Regions from separate parts of the Homo sapiens genome. Here region 1 is linked to region 2. The links are contacts of gene promoters, found by promoter capture Hi-C in blood cells and fetal thymus (Javierre and others, 2016). All regions are on one chromosome and are shown on one strand. Each heading gives the region's core, a stretch centred on a gene start or on the middle of the fragment in contact. The rest is flanking DNA. Distances are from core to core; before and after follow the strand shown.

Region 1 (6,714 bases), core at 2,813-5,312, 100 kb after region 2:
GATACCAGATGCCTGGAGGCTGGGGCCAGCGTCGCACCACCTCAGCACCCCCTATTCCGCCCTGCGCTGGGGGACTCTGGTTTGCCTTTGGGCAATGTCACCCTGGCACAAAGCAGGCCTGGCACCTCCCGGGGCTTTGGCCTCCCTGGGTGACCAACTGGTTTCAAGTACGGCATTTGACGGCCTTGCACTCAGGCCTCCCGGTCTGCACACAGGGCCTTTTGCTGGGCTGCTGGGAGGGTCGGAGCAGACCATGCCGAGCATGCAGCACCTCTTAGCCTCCTCCTTGCAACCTGGGCCACAGTTTCCCCGGCCAGAGCCCACACTCCCTGCCCATCAAACAGCAGTCACTGAGTGGGCTCGGTGCCCCCGATTCTCTACACCTGGCACACCCCTGGCAAGTGGTGATGGCCAAGGGTCTTTGAAGAGGGATGTGGGGTCCTCATATCCCACTGTGCTGTGTGGCCTCAGCTGAGCAGCCCACATCCTACCCTCCTTGTGGCTTCATTTTGGAAATCAGGGTCTCCAAAGGGGTTCTTCAAGGGACCCTGTCTGCAAAAGGCAGGATGAAGCTAGGCTGAGCCTCTGAATCCTACTGAACACTCTCCATTGTCCTCAAAATCAATCCCACTAAGTCCTCCATGCCAGCGCACATTGCCCTCCCCTTCCTCCCTCTGGTCCTCCTGCTGGCCGTTCCCGCCATTAGAGTTCTACTCCACAGCCTCTGCCCTCGCTGCCCCCACTGCCTTGAGCTTCCACCCTCGCATCTTCCCACGCAAGCCCCCTTCCTCATGGCATGTGTCACCTCCTGAACCCACTCTCATCCCTTCTTGAACCAGAAGCTCATGAGGGCAGGAACAGGCCTTGTGTCCACTGCTGAGCCTAGCACTGAAGACACTTGTCAAATGACCAAATGTCCTTTTTCCTCCTTCCTTGGAGATCCCATTGCCTCACTGGACAGAAGAGGAGACCAAGGGTCTGAGGGGACCACCCCCCTTTCCAGGGCCCCTGCTTGCTGCTCACCTGGCTCAGGGGCCCCATCACGGGGCCTGGCGGGCAGTGGGCGGGGGCCCCGTGGGCGAGGGCCGGGCCGGGCCAGGGCCACGGGCCCCAGGAACTCCACATAGGTGCCAGGGAAGTCACCTCGCTGCCGTGTGCGCTCGTTGAGGCCGGGCATCCAGCCCACGCTCTGTGGGCAGCGCTCGCCACCCTCGGCCACGCCCAGCGCCTGCAAGGCCGCCCGGCTCACTACCAGCACGTCGCCGGGCAGCAGCTCCAGGTCCTCCGGCCGCTCCCGGCGGAACGGGTACAGAGCGCGGTACTGGAAGCCCTCAGGGCCCGCCATGGCCGCGTGAGTGGGGTGGGGTCTGGATGGTTAGGTGGCTGCTTGGAGCCCCACTGGCCCCATTGGTTGAAGCAGGGCTGGGAGGGTCCGCTGGGTTGGCTTGGGGTGCTGGGACCTCTATCTCCAGCAGTCACAGGCGACCACAGGGGCCGCTCATGCCTCGCTTCAAATTATTCCATGACCCTTACAAGGGCCACTCGTCACTGGGTCCACCATTCGTCAGCTGGTGGGAGGGAGTTGGTGGTGTGGTGTCAGGTCACTGGGCCATTGAGTCCTCCATCAGCAGGTGAGGCTGGGGCAGGCCGCTCACGCCCTCACACGGAGGGCCATGGGCGCCCAAGGCTGGCGGCTCTGCTGGCTGCACCAGACAAGGGAGCCAAGGGTGCAGGCTGCCACCATGCTCGGCCAGCTGAGGACGCCGACCTAGGGAGACAGGGATAGGGCAGCGTTAGCCAGGCCAACTCCTCTCACCCCCAACACGGAGATGGGCCCAAATCCTGATTTGGAATTCCCTGAATCACTGGGTGACCTTGGGGCCGGTCCCTCTCAGGGCCTCAGCTTCTCTATCTGTAAAATGGGTATACTGACAGCCTTCCCTTGGAGCTGCTGGGAGTAGAGTTCCCAAGAACCTGCCCCAGGTATACTACATGCTCAGTAAATCAGTTTTTTTTTTTTTTTTTTTTGAGATAGAGTCTTGCTCTGTCACCCAGGCTGGAGTGCAGTGGTGTGATCTCAGCTCACTGCAACCTGTCTCCCAGGTTCAAGCAATTCTCCTGCCTCAGCCTCCCGAGTAGCAGGCCACCACACCCAGCTAATTTTTGTATTTTTAGTAGAGACGAGGTTTCACCATGTTGGCCAGGCTGGTCTTGAACTCCTGACCTCAAGTGATCTGCTCGCCTTGGCCTCCCAAAGTGCTGGGATTACAGGCATGAGCCACCTTGCCCAGCCTTTTTTTTTTTTTTTCCAATAGAGGTGGGGTCTTGCTATGTTGCCCAGGTTGGTCGCAAACTCCTGGGCTGAAGCAGTCCTCCTGCCTCTGCCTTCCAAAGTGTTGGGATTACAGGTGTGAGCCACCGCGCCCGGCCAGTAAACAGGCTTTTCATCACCCCTGTTACAGATGGGGAAACTGAGGCTCAGAGCAGGGAGGTATCTAGGGCCGTGCAGTAGGCCAGGAGGAAGCCAGGACTTACACCTAGATCTGCCGACTTGGCCCAGTTGGACATGAGGGGGCAGCAGCCAGGTGGCCAGATACCTAGGGCAGGGAGGACGCAATGGAGGCCACTCCGGGTGCTTTGGGAGCTCCATAGAGGGGTCAGGCCAGCTGAACTAAGAGGTAGGGAACAAAGTCCAGGAAGAGGCCTCTACACAAGCAAAGGCCTCGAGGTGAGTCCAAGCAAATGGACCTCCAGTCTCTGCAGAGGAGGAGTGAGTGGGCTGGCAGGTAGCTCCAGCCTGGGGCCCAGAGTAGGCACAAAATGCAGATGGGGAGGTGCTTAGAAGGAACCTTAGCCCCAGGCAGGGACAGGGAGCCAGGAGAAGGTGGGGGTACTGCAGCTGAGGAGGAGGGGAGGCTGCCGGCAGCAGGGCATTGATTATTCCCCAGGAGTCCCAGCCTGGGGAGGCGGAGATAGGCACACATTCCCAGCCTAGCCCTGCGGGTTCAGACGCCCTGTGATGGACAGGGCTAGGGTCGGGGGATGGACGTGCTGTTCTAGAGAATGGATCATCACAGCGGATAGGAAGGCGCGACAGGCAGACGGAACGGCACATGCAAAGCCTTGGCAGTGGGTTAAGTTGCTTGTCAAGGATTCAGGGTGGCTATAAGGATAGGTGCTATCCACCAAGAGGCCCGAGTGTCAGGTGGAGGCTCTGAGCATCCTTCAGTCACGGGGAACCCCAAGAGGTGTCCGAGCAGGGCGGAGGGGCGCCACATTCTCGGGTGCCCAATTTACCCATTCCTAGGCCTCTGTTACCCTCATTCTACAGGTGGGGAAACTGAGGCCCCGAGAGGGGATGCCCAGAAAACCGCCTGGATCTGCCTGCCAGCCCGCCCCCACGCCCCGGTGTGCGCGCCCCGGGAGCAGCGCTCCCCGAATCCGGGAGGCGGGAGGGGCGGGGCAGGCAGGGCTGGGGGCTCCGCGGGTGAAGGCAGGGCCTGAGCGCTCACACAGACGCGCACTTGGGTCTGCGTGGACCCGGCCACCCGGCTAGGGGACCGGAAGTGGGTTCGACCCCCGGCCCTCCCGCACCCCATTCTGCCCCGCACAATGCCTGGGCGCCCCTCGGTACTATTCGAAGCCCCATTCCAGGCAGGGCCTCCCTTCATTTGGGGCCTCGGCTCCAGTCCGGTATCTTGGACGCGGGGAGTCTCTCCCCATTCTGCCCCGACCGTCCCAAGGAGGCTGCACCGCTGCGGAGCCGAGCCCGAGGCCCCCCCTTGCCTGCGGCCCCCCCAGTTCCCGCGGGGCCCGACGCAGCCTGGCGCTTGCGTTCTGGCTTCCACCGGGGCCCGGCACTGCCCCCGGGCGCCCCGCATTTAAGCACACTCCCAGCCGCCCCCGCCACGAGGGCCAGTCAGGACTCACCTGGTCGCGGCCGCCACCGCCGCCGCAGCCGCCGTCACACCAAGCCAAGCCCGCCCCGTGGCTCCACCGCGGCCACCGTCGCCGCAGCCGCGGGATCCCCGCCTCCGCCGCCGCCACGGTTCCGAGCGGCCTGGCCCGCCCCCGGCGGAAATGCCCGAGCGCATTCGAGCCGGGCGGATGAACCGAGGCCGAGGCGGAGCCTGAGGTAAGGGGGCACCCGAGTGTTTCCGGAAGTAGCCGAACGTAATCCCGCGGGACTGGTGGACTAGAGGGTGCCCCCGAGACAGCCGAGCGTTTCCAGAGGTAGCCGAGTGCAATCGGGTCGGCGAGGGATCCGAGACTGGGCTCGGCTGGGCTTAGAGACGCCCGAGCGCTTTCGGAAATGGCCGAACACTCTCTACGGCCGCACTGGCACAACTGAGGCTGATCCCCAAGACCGCGGAGCGTTTCTGGAAATAACCGAATGTGCTCAGTGCCCAATGGAGGCCTTGGGAGTTTAGACCCAGAGGCGACCGCCAGCTTATGGGAATTACTGAAGCATAGATGGTTCCAGGGGACAAATGAGGCGTTCTCAAGCTCAGCAAACAGGGGGCAGTAGAGTGGGGAAAGGGCCTGCCGCAAAAAGCAGAAGTCGGAGAAAGCCAGGGTTGAAGGAGTTTCCATGGCAACCCAGAGCGTCCGGAAACAGCCAACGATCTCGACCCCTACGGGCACTAGAATTTAGCGGACTTGAGCCTAGATGCCGACGGTTTCCGGAAATAGCCGAACGCACTCGGAGATGGGGCTGTAGCCAAGAGTGTTTGCATGCCGGCTGAGCGCCCCGGAAGTAACGGATTGCTCTAGGGCTGGGCCGGGTTCGGCTAGAGGGAGTTTTATGGCAGAGCGCAAGCTAAGACCAGGATAGAAAGGACGCGACGATTGCTTATTTTGTTATTATTTTTTGAGACGGAGTTTCGCTCTTGTTGCCCAGGCTGGAGTGCAATGGCGCTATCTCGGCTCGCCGCAACCTCCACCTCCCGAGTTCAAGCGATTCTCCTGCCTCAGCCTCCCGAGCAGCTGGGATTACAGGCATGCGCCACCACGCCCGGCTAATTTTGTATTTTTAGTAGAGACGGGGTTTCTCCATGTTGGTCAGGGTGGTTTGGAACTCCCGACCTCAGGAGATCCGCCCGCCTTGGCCTTCCAAAGTGCTGGGATTACAGGCGTGAGCCACCGCGCCCCGCCGCTTATTTATTTTATTAACATAGCCCAGGGCGCCCAGGAGGTCGAGGCTGCAATGTGCCGTGATTGCGCCACTGTACTCCAACCTGGGTTACAGAGCGAGACCTTGTCTCAAAAACATAAAAATAAAAAACATAGCTCAGGGCCCAGATGTCTGGAGGAAGCTTTTAAAGGCAGGGCTATGATGGAGTACTCGCAGGGAGAGGGTAGCAGGAGGCTGGTACCAGCGATGGCATCAGGAAGAATCTCAACAGCGAACTGCTATGCAGTCCTCAAAACCCACTTGCAATGACTTTGAGCCATGGGTCTATTTCACTCCGCTCCCCTCCCCACTCTTCCCTTCCTCCTTTCTCAGCCCCTCACAAATCCAGACGTTGGAGCTCATCTTTGTAAATACGGGCTTTTATTCACTGCCAGCTCCAGGATGGAAGGAGGGGGTGAATCATGCACAGCCTTGGTCTACCCTCCAACACTAGGCAGTGCTGGACAGGGGACTCAGAAAGGGAAGCAGAGTGGGCTGTTGATGTCTGGAAAGCTCCCTCACCAGAGTGCCCAGTGGGTCACACAGCATCATGGGGGATGAGCTGGGGCTGGAGTCGGCTGTATCTGACACCAGACCCTCCATTCAAGCTCCCTTGATGACAACGCCCACAACAGGGTCTGGCTGATGCTCCGTTCTGCCACGACTCCTGCTGGGTGATCGTGGGACAGGTCTCCGCCCCTCGCTGGGGTCTCAGCTGCTTTGTCTGTAAAATGGAGGTGATGACACCACCTCCAGCCTTCTCAAGGCTGGCTGAGGGAGAAGCCACGTAAAAGCGCTTGGCACACAGTAGGTGCTTAATAAACAGTCAATGGGATTAGTCTTGTAAACACAAGGAAACTGAGGCACAGAGTGGGAAAGCCATTTTCCCAGAGCCACACAGTGAAGCTGAAATTCAAACTTGAGCCTCGACTGGGTTTTCTGGCTTGAACTTCATCCCAGAGAGGCTCTGACATATGGAGGGAACCCCTAACAGGTGTTTCAGACACATCACGGCCAAGGGCTTACTCTGCTGGGCCTCAAACACACGGCATCTTGTCCAGGGTAGACTGGACAAGGCCAGGCCAAGGCAGAGCCTGAGGGGAGGGGACACTGAGTGTTTCTGGAAGTAGCTGGACGTAATCCCGCAGGACTGGCATACTGGAGCGTGCCCCGAGACAGCCGAGCATTTCTGGAGGCTGCCTTGGCAGTTCCAGGTGAGGCCTGTACCTTCCTTTATCAGTGCCCACCTGGGGAGCGGATGACCCCTCTGCCCAGATCCGGTGAACACCTATTCATCCATCAAAGCTCCAGCTCCCATATCCCTTCTCCAGGCTGAAGCCAGCAGGATTGGAGGCAGACTCTATATATAGAGCAGGCACTGCCTGGGCATGGCAGCTATGATGGTGGGAAGTGGCCTTCAGAATCCAGTCCATCGCTGGGATTACATTGTTTTGTGGGTGAGAGGAATTGTTTACGGACACTCCAGGTTGTAGCCGAACTGGGCCGGTACAGGTGACCAGGTGACTTCAACTCCATCCCCT
Region 2 (7,148 bases), core at 3,665-6,164:
AACCTATGTGAAGAACCTCTGATGGTTAGTGAGATGGTATCCAGCCCCCCGGACTTCAAGTTCAACGACGTGTCCCTTGGGTTCCATCATCCACCCAGGGTTGGTGGGAGGCATGTGTGTCCACCCTCTGTGGTTAGTGTTTCAACACCAAATCTCTCTCATGCTGATGAGGAGGCCTGTTGTGTAGGCCAGTGAATCACGCCTCTGTTCAGGGGTGTGGCTGTAAGCCATCCCCAGGAGCCTTTGGCTGATGCTATGTTCCCCAGTGGGTCTCAGGGGACCACATCTCCTGGCCTAGCTGGGAATCTCCCCTGGAGAACCATAGCAACTGGCATGGGCCAAAGTCAATGTCAGGTGGCCAATGGCATGGCTTCCCTTGCATCCCAGGTCTTAGAGGCAGGTGGCCCTTTGACACATCCCTCTGGAACCACAGGGATGGCCCCCAGCCCCTCTCTGGCTTCAGTGCCCAACAGACTGGCCGTGACTCAGTCTAATCTTTCCCTGAACAGCATGGACCCCAGCAGCTCCCAGATCAGTGTGGTTATTCCAAAAAACATAGACTGCTGGCACCCTTCTGAGGCATCCATGGTCCCACCCAGTTACCAGCAGAGAGATGTGATTCCGCAGGACTCTCTGAAGAGCAGGGCTGGTCGTGGTGCGGCAGGAGGTTTTGTAGCCAGTAGAATGAGCACGGGCGCAGTCCCAGGCACTCTGCCTGGTGGCATAACCTCCAGCCTTCCCCCGGGCTCCACCATCCGAGGCATGGGTCACAGCCTTCCCGCAGGCTCTGTGTCCAGTTGGGTGGCTCCCAGTCTGATGGCAGACAGAAAGAAGCCAAGTCTATCTGTAAGACCCTCCGCTAGCTTAGCTGCTCCAAACTTGCTCCCAGGTTCAGTAGTGAGTCGGGTGAGCCCAGTTGTCCCCCTGGTTCTGTGCCAATGATGGGGGCCTCTAGTGTGGCTCAGAGCTGCTCCAAGGGGCCCATGGTGATTGACATCACTGCCCCTCCTTACCTCAAAGCCTGGCTGGGGAGAGGTCTTTAGCCCCCTTGCAGATGCCCCACACCACCAGTCTGGCTCCAGGTCACTCCTCAGCCCCGGCAGCTAGTGGCACAGTGAGGAGTCTACACCGAGTGCCCACGGTTCTATCAAGAGCCTTACAATTGAGCCAAGATGCTAGGATAATGCCATCTGGGGTCACAGGGGACCAAGCCAAGCTAGGAGAATTGGATGAGGCTGTGTTCCAAGTGTCAGGATCAAGTGGATCCAATGACCTATTCAGCAAAGCCAGGGTCACTGGTGCAACCCAGTGGATGTACTCCAGTCCTCTGGGAGCTGATGGGGGCCATGATCATAGGTCCCTGTCTGAGAAAGGGTCTCTTCCCCAAGGGAGGTGGCTCCCAGCCATGCTAGTGGCATGGTCCCTGTCCCTTTCCAGGCCCCGGGTTTAGCCACTAAGTCCCCCTCAGTTTATCAACAGGGGTCTGTCACTCACGTCATACCCCCAAATCACTCTCAGGGTACAGTGGCTTCTAATGTAGTCTCAGGATCACCCCAGCTGGCCCGTGGCAGTACTGAGGCTTTCAGATTGCTTTCAGTGTCTGTGGGCAGGATGGGGAATCCTAGTCTTCTTCAGAGGTCAGGGACCACCAGCATGGTCTCACATGTGCCACTATATCCGTCCTCGGCTAGAAGGGCATTGTCCAGTCCCTTCCAGACAGAAGCTGTCCCCAATCCACTCCAGAAAACAGTGTCTGGAAACATGGCTCCGAGCAGCCGCTGGGACGCCATGGGCCCTAAAAATTCCTACAGATCCGTGCATGGTAGGATTGTTCCAGAACTGCTAGAAAGTTCTGTGGCCAGGGTTAGGCCCTTACAGTATGTGCAAAGACAACCATCCCAGGCCTCAGCCCGAAGTGGTGCAAACCCCACCCACAGGCCCTCTGCAGAGGTAAGGCCCGTCATCCGCACTGGGGAGATGACACACTCCTCGGTCATTCCTCCGCTGGCCCCGGGAGTTCGGAGGGTGTCTCTAGGCTATGAGTCTTCCCCAAGTGGTTCCCTGCCACCCCTTTTTAACCAGGAGTCACCGTGGAGACGGCAGGACTCCTATAGCCCCCAGAATCCTGCCGTTAGTCACAAGGCATCCCTGAACTCCACTATACTCCAGGGCCCCGCGGACGCTGGTGTGGTTGGTGGCCAATCGTGGAACCGCGCATGGGAGCCAGCCAGGGGTGCTGCGTCCTGGGACACCTGGCGCAACAAGGCGGTGGTGCCTCCCAGGCGGTCCGGGGAGCCAATGGTGTCCATGCAGGCTGCAGAGGAGATCCGCATCCTCGCAGTGATCACTATCCAGGCGGGCGTCCGTGGCTACCTGGCGCGTCGCAGGATCCGGCTGTGGCACCGGGGGGCCATGGTCATCCAAGCTACTTGGCGCGGCTACCGTGTGCGGCGGAACCTGGCACACCTCTGCAGAGCCACCACGACCATCCAGTCTGCCTGGCGCGGCTACAGCACCCGCCGGGACCAAGCCCGGCACTGGCAGATGCTCCACCCCGTCACGTGGGTGGAGCTGGGCAGCCGGGCCGGGGTCATGTCTGACCGAAGCTGGTTCCAGGATGGCAGAGCCAGGACAGTATCTGACCATCGCTGCTTCCAGTCCTGCCAGGCACACGCTTGCAGCGTCTGCCACTCCCTGAGCTCCAGGATCGGGAGCCCGCCCAGCGTGGTGATGCTAGTGGGCTCCAGCCCTCGCACCTGTCATACCTGTGGACGCACACAGCCCACCCGTGTGGTGCAGGGCATGGGCCAGGGCACTGAGGGCCCCGGGGCAGTGTCTTGGGCCTCCGCCTACCAGCTGGCTGCCCTGAGTCCCAGGCAGCCGCATCGCCAGGACAAAGCGGCCACAGCCATCCAGTCCGCCTGGAGGGGCTTTAAGATCCGCCAGCAGATGAGGCAGCAGCAAATGGCAGCGAAGATAGTTCAAGCCACCTGGCGAGGCCACCATACCCGGAGCTGTCTGAAGAACACAGAGGCGCTCTTGGGACCAGCAGACCCCTCGGCCAGCTCACGGCACATGCATTGGCCTGGCATCTAGGACCCTGGCTCCCTGCAGTGGGGACTTCGTGGGAGGCACTCATGGCTCTCTGGGTCTAATGAATAAAGTCCTCCACAGCCTAGATCTTGGGTGATGTGTTCTGGGTTAATGGAAGTGGCTTGGGTATAGTGGGGGAATCTGGAACATCCCAGAGGGAAGAGAACTCTGAAGTTACCAACCATGCAGTATGCATCTGGGGTCTGTGGCCAGCATGGGGACCTCAAATCTTTCCTGGAGGTCAGGCACTGCCAATGTGGTCTCAGCTGTGCCTCTGCCATATCCACGTACAGGTAGTGGGGTGGTGTCCAGCCCGTCCCAGATGGAAACTGTCCCCAGTGCACTCTAGAAATGTGCCTGGGACCTGGCCCAGAGCACTCACCTCAAGTCCCTCACCCCTAAAAAATCCTACAGGATGGCTGGGTGTGGTGGCTCATGCCTGTAATCCCAGCACTTTGGGAAACCAAGACGAGTGGGTCACCTGAGGTCAGGAGTTAGAGCTATCAGCCTGGCCAACATGGTAAAACCCCATCTATACTAAAAAAAAATACAACAACAAAAAAAGGCCAGGCACGGTGGCTCACGCCTGTAATCCCAGCACTTTGGGAGGCCGAGGTGGGCAGATCACCTGAGGTCAGAAGTTCGAGATCAGCCTGACCAACATGGAGAAACCCCGTCTCTACTAAAAATACAAAATTAGCCGGCCATGGTGGCACATGCCTGTAATCCCAGCTACTCAGGAAGCTGAGGCAGGAGAATCGCTTGGACCCGGGAGGCGGAGGTTGTGGTGAGCCAAGATTGTGCCATTGCATTCCAGCCTGGGCAACAAGAGCTAAACTCAGTCTCAAAAAAAAAAAAAAAAAATTAGCCGGGCATGGTGGTACACGCCTGTAATCGCAGCTACTTGGGAGGCTGAGGCGGGAGGTTGCTTGAATCCCAGAGTTTGAGAATGCAGTGAGCTGTGATTGTGCCACTGTGCTTCAGCCTGGGCGACAGAGTGAGACCCCGTCTCTTAAAAAAAAAAAAAAAAAGGGCTGGGCACGGTGGCTCATGCCTGTAATCCTAGCAGTTTGGGAGGCCGAGGCGGGTGGATCACTTGAGGTCAGGAGTTCGAGACCAGCCTGGCCAACATGGTGAAACCCTGTCTCTGCTAAAAAATACAAAAATTAGCCAGGCCTGGTAGCGGGCGCCAGCTACTCGGGAGGCTGAGGCAGGAGAATTACTTGAACCCGGGAGGCAGAGGTTGCAGTGAGCCAAGATTGCATCACTGCGCTCCAGTCTGGGTGACAGAGCAAGACTCCGTCTCAAAAAAAAAAAAGAATAAAAGAAAGAAAAAGAAATCCATAATAGAAATGCTAGAAGGTTAGAAGGTTTCAGTCATGTCCCCAAAAGGCCCCAGTCTGGGTGAGACAGAGGACAGAGGAGGACGAGGACAGAGAACAAGGACATCCCCAGCCCTGTGGGTTCAGGGATCGGAGGGAGGTGGGAGAAATTGGTGCTCCCAGAGGGGACAACCTGGCTGGACGAGGGGCAGAGGGAGTGACAGCAGGGGTTTGGGCAGCTGTGGAACCAGGAGCAGGGGGAAAGAGGACGGCAGGGGCAGGGTGTCTTTAGTGGATGACTGGCTTTGAGAGCTTCTGGGTCGTCGTGTTTAGAAGGGGTGGAGTCCAGGTGAAGAGGGCGAGAACCGCACCCGGGGGAACAGGAGCGCCCCAGGGAGGTCCCACACCCTGCAGCCCCACCTGCGCCTTGCCCCTGCACAGCCCCGCGCTCCGCCAGCAGGGAGCGCACACGCAGGTGCAAGGAGCTGGCACCTGGGCACACACCTGGCCACACACCTGTGCAGAGCCGGTGGCAGGCCCTCCCGGCGCAGGAATGGCGTGCCCCCAGCTGCCGCCACTTCTGCTTTTGGTGCTGGTGGTGCTGCTGAAAGCTGGTGTGAATTACAATACTCCCTTTACAGGTAAGAGCTGGTAAAGAGGCTCAGCTTCCAGAAAGCGGAAGGGTGGGGGTGGGGGACGCACAGCCCAGTCACACACCTGGCTTCTGGACCCCTCCCTCAGGCCACGCTGGTCCGCCAACCCTCCGAGGAAGGCTGGGTTTTCCCCCAGAAACAAACGGAGCAGCTGTGAGGACAGATGAGGCACCGCTGCTCCCAAGCCCTGGGGCTGTGGGTCCTGCAACTCCAGTGAGCCCTGAACCTGCTGGAGGCCACAGATGGCCTCACACCTACTTTTGGGCTCCTTTTCAAATCTGTTGCTTTTAGCCAATCCCCAAAGGGAGAATGGTGAAGACCTCAGGGCCATGGGGGTTCCAGGGAACAGGGACTCACTTCCTGGTCATCAAACATCTGTGGTTCCCATGAGAAGTTCTTCTGGGTGTCTGACTTAATTCCCTCTTGCTCTCCTATAAGACAGTGCCTAGGGTGGAGGGGAGGAGCCTTGAGCTTCTCGCATTCCCTTTTTCTGCCCTTTACCTGCCACTATGTTGTCACTCTCTCTGACCGGTGTCCTACCCCACAGACCTGTAATAGCAGAGCAGAGGCCACCATGGCTGCTGAAATGCTCATTGCAGGGAAGGGTTTCATTCAGAAGGCACCACTTTTATCCCCATTTCATAGCTCAGGAAACTGAGGCTCAGTCCAGCTTGTCCCAGACCCAGATTAGAACTGGTTGACTTGGCTCATGTGAGCCTCCCAGTCTAGGAGTCTCTGGGGAGAGCAAACACCCAGCACAGTGCCTAGAAACATCTTTATTTTTACCTTCTGGTCAACCCTTCAGCAGCTCACCAGTGCCTACTCAGTGCCAGGCACTCAACAGGGCTTGTGTCCTCCAACTCTTCCTTTTTCAAGTCCACAGCTTTTCCTCAGTTCACTAAGCACTCAGCTCCCCAGAATTCTGACTTGGCTTGGGGTCCACTCTGGCCTCTGAATCATCTTCATTTCAGCAGAAACAGAGGACAAGGGTCCTTGAGGGGCGTTCTTCCCAGCTCCCCAGTCACCTCAGGCCAGACCCTCTGCTACTCTGAGCCTCAGTTTCTCATCTGTCAAATGGGGATGAAGCCCAGCCTGAGTTCCATGCCTCTTCTAGACTCAGCCGTCATCCCCACAGGGCCTGGGGGGCTACATAGAGATCTGGGGAGGGTGGCATGTGGACCCAGCCCCCTCTCAGGGCCAGTGTTGTGTGTTATTTCCGCATTTCTGCTGCCTAGGGTGAGTCAAGGAGGAAGCACAAAGTTTGGCCCAGAGCAGAGTGCATGGGTGGAGCAGAGAGTTGATGAATGAACTTGTAAGTGCCTAAGAGGCCCAGTCACCTGGAACTGGGTGGGAAGTCGTTGTGGGAGGTGGCTCATGAACTGCTTACCTGCCCTCAGCCTGGTCCCTGGACTCCATGCCTGGGATGGGATGTGAGCCAGGAAGTAGCTGGACCAACACGTAGAAGGGTGGGTTCCGGAGACATGTTCCCAGCGCCTGTGTCTTTGTGTCTTCCATTAAAGTTGAGGTTAGCCTAGGGCTACCTGGAGAAAATTAGGGCTGATCCTCTCTGAGCTCATAGGTGGATCTTTATAGTTGAGTGTCACTGTGCACCCACTGTGTTTCTATTCTATTGTGTGTGTGTGTTTTTTTTTTTTTTGAGACGGAGTCTCACTCTGTTGCCTAGGCTGGAGTTCAGTGGCATGATCATGGCTTACTGCAGCCTTGAACTCCTGGACTCAAGCGATCCTCCCACCTCAGCCTCCTGAGTAGCTGGGACTAGGCATGCACCACCATGCCTGGCTAATTTTTGTTTTATTTTTTTGTAGAGACAAGGTCTCATTATGTCTCCCAGGCAGGAGTGCAGTGGCGCAATCATGGCGCACTACAGCCTTGAATTCCTGGGGTCAGGCAATCCTCCCGCCTCAGCCTCCCCAGTAGCTGGGAGCACCCAGCTTGTGTACACCCACTATGAACCTGACTGATGAACTGTCAGAGGCACCAACTCCACATGAACTCCATTTTACAGAAAAGAAAACTGAGTCCCAGAAAATTTAAAGGAGCTGCCCAGCACTGCCTGGGA

What was found. The method cuts DNA at HindIII sites, captures the fragments that hold promoters and counts their contacts. A CHiCAGO score of 5 or more calls a contact.
Region 1: the fragment with the promoter of PIK3R2 here is called in contact with the fragment with the promoter of CIST1 in region 2 in 16 of 17 cell types (neutrophils, total B cells, naive CD8 T cells and 13 more); the score reaches 17.3 in neutrophils.

What each region holds. Positions count from the first base shown.
Region 1 is chr19:18,150,511-18,157,224 of GRCh38, reverse strand. PIK3R2 (phosphoinositide-3-kinase regulatory subunit 2) reads right to left here and starts at 4,062. Exons shown (of 16, transcript NM_005027.4): 1 at 3,931-4,062; 2 at 1,024-1,768. The coding sequence starts at 1,345. It overlaps MAST3 (microtubule associated serine/threonine kinase 3), which reads right to left. Exons shown (of 28, transcript NM_001393504.1): 28 at 5,538-6,714. RefSeq lists enhancers at 1-599, 4,212-4,491, 3,797-4,689, 5,232-5,311 and silencers at 3,192-3,411, 3,722-4,101. The HindIII fragment of the contact is 8,629 bases long and covers 1-5,317 here.
Region 2 is chr19:18,253,128-18,260,275 of GRCh38, reverse strand. It overlaps CIST1 (colon, intestine and stomach enriched 1), which reads left to right and starts at 4,914. Exons shown (of 4, transcript NM_001396036.2): 1 at 4,914-5,056. The coding sequence starts at 4,969. IQCN (IQ motif containing N) reads left to right here. Exons shown (of 4, transcript NM_001145304.2): 4 at 2,170-3,178. The coding sequence ends at 3,096. It also overlaps a transcript of PDE4C not described here. The HindIII fragment of the contact is 13,123 bases long and covers 1-7,148 here.